Regions from separate parts of the Homo sapiens genome. Here region 2 is linked to region 1. Evidence: promoter capture Hi-C in 16 types of primary human blood cells and fetal thymus (Javierre and others, 2016). All regions are on one chromosome and are shown on one strand. Each heading gives the region's core, a stretch centred on a gene start or on the middle of the fragment in contact. The rest is flanking DNA. Distances are from core to core; before and after follow the strand shown.

Region 1 (2,703 bases), core at 72-2,571:
CAGAAAGGGGAACCCCAGACAGCCCCCATCGGCCCCTCCCCCTAGCCAATGAGATGTAACAGCAGCTGCAGCAGCAGCAAACATCTACTGCACTCCTACCGTGCCAGGCCCTGTGCAAACCGTGCGGCAGAGACTGACCTGCAACCAATTCCTGTTCCACCTCCTAGCTGGGTAACTTGAGGCGTGCACTGCCCCTCGGAGACTCCGCATTCTCATTTGTAAAACGAAAAACAATCTACCTCAAAGGATTGCTGGGAGAATTCAATGAGATGATGCTTTGCCCAGGGCCTGCCACATAGTAACTGCTTAATAAGAGGTAGTTCTCAAAGTAAGGGATGACACTGAGAAAAGGAAAACTACTGTTACTTAAGGGGTTCTTAAAAGTCCTAGAAGCCATTATTTATGCATTTAGGTATTTCCTAAGCGTTTGCTGATACCAGTTTTTCAAATAAACTTTATCCTCACAGCATCTTCGGGGTGGAAGGGGCAGAGGGTAGAGCGACAGACCTGCCGAAGGAGGAAAACCAGACCCGTGAAGGTCCAGGGGGGTGGCCGGCAAGCACCGAGGAGGAGTCCCCCGGCTCAAACCCTCTTGCGTGGCTTCAAAACATCAGACGCGCCTCTCCTCGCGGAGAAGCTGGGGGCCATTATTTGTGAGGCAGTCGGCGCTGGGACTCTAAGTCAGCACCGCAGAGAAGTGGTCATCTTTTGTTCCGAAAGAAAAAAACGCACGTCAGGGCTCAGAGCCCGAGGAAAGAAAAGTCAGCGCCCGAGACGCGAGACGCCACGCGGATGCTTTCAACGCTAGGTCAGGCCCCGGCAGAAATGAGAGGGGGGCGGCCCCGGTTCTGGAGAAGCCACGAGCCCCCAGGGAGCTCAGAGTGGGGTGGTGCTGGGGCCCAGAGGCCCCCCTGGGCGCCGACCGGAGGAGGGGAGAGGGGCGGCGGCGGCCGGGGGGGTCCCGGGCTCCGCTCACCGGGCCGCTGCGTCTGGCGTACCTGGCGAAGCCAGGCCCTGTCAGCCCGGAGCCGGGCTGGGGTCGCCAATGCTCAGAGGCCCGGCCCACAGAAGCAGCCGGTGGCGGCCCGGAACTCACCTGCACTCGCAACTGCGCCGCCGCCGCCTGTCAGTCAAGCGCGCCCCCTCTGAGGCGACGCGCAGGGTTGTGGGGCCGTCTGGCGACGCCCCACCTCCTTCCCTCTGCCGTCCAATCGGAAGAGGCTGACGCCAGGAGAGGGGGCGTGGCCACGCGGACTGTGCGTGCCGGGGGCGGGGCCAGACGGGGCAGGCGCTCTGACCGCTCTGCCGCGCGCCGGAAGCAGCCTGGGCCGCTGCGCAGAGGCGCGGCGGCTGTACAACTCGGCCGTTGTCACCATGCCGGTCGTCCGGAAGATTTTCCGTCGCCGCCGGGGCGACTCGGAGTCAGAGGAAGATGAGCAGGACTCAGAGGAGGTTCGGTGCGTTTGGGGCGGGGCTCCCATAGGCTTGGTAAAGATAGACTTGTTTGGGGGACTCACCACCGGCTCGGCGCTTCGCTGACATTGTTAACTGTGAGCTCGGGTGGTGGTTCCTTCTGCGGACGCAGAAATTGAGGCTCAAGGGGTGAGGCCACCGCCCCAAGCTCGAACGGTTGAGAGAGATGCCTCCGGGATGCGCAGTGGCTCTGACTCCCGGTGGGTCTAGGCACAAGGTCGTCCTCTGGACCACTGTGCTGGTGGCTCAGTAGCTGGGCTGGGATGCCCTCGAAGGTGCCTTATTGGCTCTGTTAGCTTTGGATTCCGCGGGGAATCACTCAGCTTATGCATTGCTGCTTCTTCTTCTTTTTAAAGATTAAAACTGGAAGAGACCAGAGAGGTACAGAACTTGAGGAAGAGGCCCAACGGGGTGAGGTGGGTACCACGCGGGGAGGAGGAGGAGGCGGCGGGGACGACAGACACATCCGCGTCCGGGTCGCTGTCACAAATATCTCCTCAGACGTAGATTTTTCTCTTGACACACTGTACACCTTCCACTGCCCAACTTGGAGAACAGCGTTCTTTGCAAATGTTTAACCAGGACATGCCCTGAGCTGTGTCGTCTCGGGGTGTGCTCCAGAGATACAGAAACAGATCACTAACTCGCGTTTTTTATTAAAACCAATTAATTGTGAAATGCATATCGATCGTTAAGAGTTTGTATAATTTAGAAAAGTATAGTCAAGACGATAAAAAGCACCCATAATTCTCCCATCCGGAAATGATCAGTGTTAACATTTTTTTTCCTTGCAGAGCCACCCAAGAATGCACTGGTATTAATATTGAATACTCTTTCCAATCTGTTTTTTTTCGTCTCTCTCTCTCAGATTGTGAACAACTTTCTATGTACTTTTATTCCCTGTTCTTTTCAACTCATTATGACATTGTGGGCATTCACCCATATTGTGGAATATTTTTCAGAAAGCCTTAATGGCTGCATAATATTCCACCAGATGTGTGTATTGTAATTTGTTAACAAATCCCCTATTTTGGGACATGTAGGTGATTTTGTAAATTTTTACTATCAAATAAGGCTGCAGTGGATATTCTCTTAAATTTATCTTTAGCTGCACTTTCCATGATGAGAATATCTTAGAAATGAGATTTCCAGGCCAAGATAATGCCAAATGGCTTTACAGGAAAGTGGCAAAGTGTACCACTTCACCACCAGCGCACCCTTCTTCCAGCA
Region 2 (2,703 bases), core at 151-2,650, 120 kb before region 1:
GTTCTGGGATTACAGATGTGAGCCACCGCACCCGGCTACCCCTTTCAACTCTTAAATTTCTTTGGAGCATACATACTAGAGGTTCAATATTTAGATGTTGTTTAAGTGGATGAAAATGTTTCCTCCTGGGTTCATAAGAGAAGCAGAGGGTACTAATCACCAGTGTGTTTTCCCCTTTGCAGAACTTTCACGATGGCCGTAAAGCACAGCAGCACATCGAGACTTGCTGGAAGCAGCTTGAATCTGTAAGTGAACAATGCACAGCAAAAGAAACGGCTTTATAGATTTTTTTTTCTTTTTTTTTGAGACGGAGGCTCCCTCTGTTGCCCAGGTTGGAGTGCAATGGTGCGATCTCGGCTCACTGTAACCTCTGCTTCCCAGGTTCAAGTGATTCTCCTGCCTCAGCCTCCCAAGTAGCTAAGATTACAGGCACACGTCACCATGCCCGGCTAATTTTTGTATTTTTGGTAGAGATGGGGTTTTGCCATGTTGGCCAGGGTGGTCTTGAACTCCTGCCCTGAAGTGATTCGCCCACCTCGGCCTCCCAAAGTTCTGGGATTACAGGCGTGAGCCACTGCACCCAGCCTAGGAAATGTCTTTATAGATTTTCCAGTTTCAATTTAATTTAAGCTTGAGTCAATCAGAAAGTAAAAAACATGCACATAAAAACACTAATGAAACATCTTTATAGATTTTTCTCATTTAATTTGTTTCTAGAACCATTATCTAAAGTTGAGCCAAAAGAGCTCAAGTTGAGTATTTTTCTAAAAGTCACGTGGAAATAATAAAGATTAGACAGTTTTGATGGAAATAAATGCAGATTTTAAAATAACTTCTAGAAATTATGACATATAAGAAATCAATTCAGAGAAGAGTATTCTTGGGCCAGACACATTGGCTCACGCCTGTAATCCCAGCAATTTGGGAGGCAGAGGCGGGAGGATTGCTTGAGCTCAGAAGCTCAAGACCAGCATGGGCAACATGACAAAACCTAGTCTCTACAAAAAAATGCAAAAATTAGCTGGGCATGGTGGTGCATGCCTGTAGTCACAGCAGCTAGTGAGGCTGAGGTGGGAGGATCACCTGAGCCGGGAAGGTCAAAGCTGCAGTGAGCCAAGATGGCGCCACTGCACTCCAGCCTGGGTGACAAAGTGAGACCCTGACTGAAGAAAAAAAAAAGAAAAAGAACAATGCTCTTTGGGAGCTTTAGATAAAATTACATCTTCTCGTAGGACTCTTATGGTTTCATAATTATTTTCCTCTGATTTTAGAGTAAAAGGCGATTTGAACGCGATTGCAAAGAGGCGGACAGGGCGCAGCAGTACTTTGAGAAAATGGACGCTGACATCAATGTCACAAAAGCGGATGTTGAAAAGGTGAGGTGAAAGCTCAAGTGTGGGCCGGGCACGGTGGCTCACGCCTGTAATCCCAGCACTTTGGGAGGCTGAGGTGAGCGGATCACCTGAGGCCAGGAGTTCGAGACCAGCCTGGCCAAGATGGTGAAACCCCATCTCTACGAAAAACACAAAAATTAGCTGAGTGCAGTGGCAGGCACCTATAATCCCAACTACTAGGGAGGCTGAGGCAGGAGAATCGCTTGAGCCCAGGAGGCGTTGGCTGCAGTGAGCCAAGATCACGCCACTGCACTCCAGCCTGGGTAACAAGAGCGAAACTATCGCCAAAAAAAAAAAAAGACAAAAGAAAGCTCAAGTGTGTCTTTCATTTCCCCTGTGAGTGTTCATCACCGACCACCCATCCCCAAGTTCTCATTTCTAATGTAGCCACAAAAGGCGCTACATGGGGAATCATTTTCATTTTGTGTCAACCATTGTGGGGACCAGAAGCTCAAGTGTGGGGAATCTTCGGTGTTAGAATTTGAGACGTTTTATCTGTTGAGTCACCAGGGTGATAAAGTGGAGACTTAGACTATGAACAGTCTGGGAACAACGTTCCAGAAGGTTGTGGCTCTTAATGGCTTTTCAAAGAGAAAGTCAATTTCTTGAGAGCCGGAGGAGACAGGACAGGGCCATCTGGAAGAGCTTGGCTGCTTATAATGGTTCCTTTAGAGCAATAGTCTCACTGCTTGCCTGACTTCTAATTGATTCCTCCTGGTTGATAACAGTGAGGTTGTAGTTGAAGCCTTGCATATTTCAGTCCTCTCAAAAGCTTTTCTCTAAATGGACTTGTATTGCCAACTAGAAATATTATAAAGTGTATACTGTTTCTCATTGTGGCTCAATATGCGTTTTTTCCCTAGAAGCTGAATTTTATTTTTATTAAAGTCATCAATACAATGTAAACAAAATTAGGCTTTTACATAACAAGGACTCATTCATGATGCCCATGGTTGTTTGGGCATTCATAGCTTCATGCTGTATGTGGGTGAAAGCACTGAGTTTTTATAGATTTGTTGAGCTTTTGACAGATCAGTTAGAGTTGAGTTTAGTTGGGAAATGGTGTGAACTATTATTTGCCAAATTCTGCCAAATTCCTTGCTTAAAGACTAGGTATACGTTAATATTAGTATGCCTTTCTCTAAAATTATTAAATATATTAAAATACATATTCTTGCCAGGTGCTGTGGCACATACCCCTAGACTCAGCTACTTAGGAGACTGAAGCAAGAGGATTGCTTGAGCCCAGGAGTCCAGACTGGGCAACATAACGAGACCCCATCTCAGGAGCAGGGGAGTGTTCTCAATA

Evidence for each region. Contacts are between HindIII fragments. The CHiCAGO score rates a contact against its expected background, and 5 or more counts as called.
Region 2: a contact is called between a fragment that was not itself captured here and the fragment with the promoter of C9orf78 in region 1, in 2 of 17 cell types (total CD8 T cells and naive CD4 T cells). The highest score is 5.5, in total CD8 T cells.

Annotation. Positions count from the first base shown.
Region 1 is chr9:129,833,893-129,836,595 of GRCh38, reverse strand. It overlaps C9orf78 (chromosome 9 open reading frame 78), which reads left to right and starts at 1,321. Exons shown (of 9, transcript NM_016520.3): 1 at 1,321-1,457; 2 at 1,830-1,889. The coding sequence starts at 1,375. It overlaps USP20 (ubiquitin specific peptidase 20), which reads right to left and starts at 1,138. Exons shown (of 26, transcript NM_001110303.4): 1 at 1,097-1,138. RefSeq lists an enhancer at 388-888 and silencers at 860-1,009, 1,040-1,389. The HindIII fragment of the contact is 4,419 bases long and covers 1-2,703 here.
Region 2 is chr9:129,956,033-129,958,735 of GRCh38, reverse strand. FNBP1 (formin binding protein 1) reads left to right here. Exons shown (of 17, transcript NM_015033.3): 5 at 183-245; 6 at 1,272-1,376. Among named protein-coding and RNA genes, the nearest start is that of FNBP1, 86 kb to the left of the region's middle. The HindIII fragment of the contact is 1,536 bases long and covers 633-2,168 here.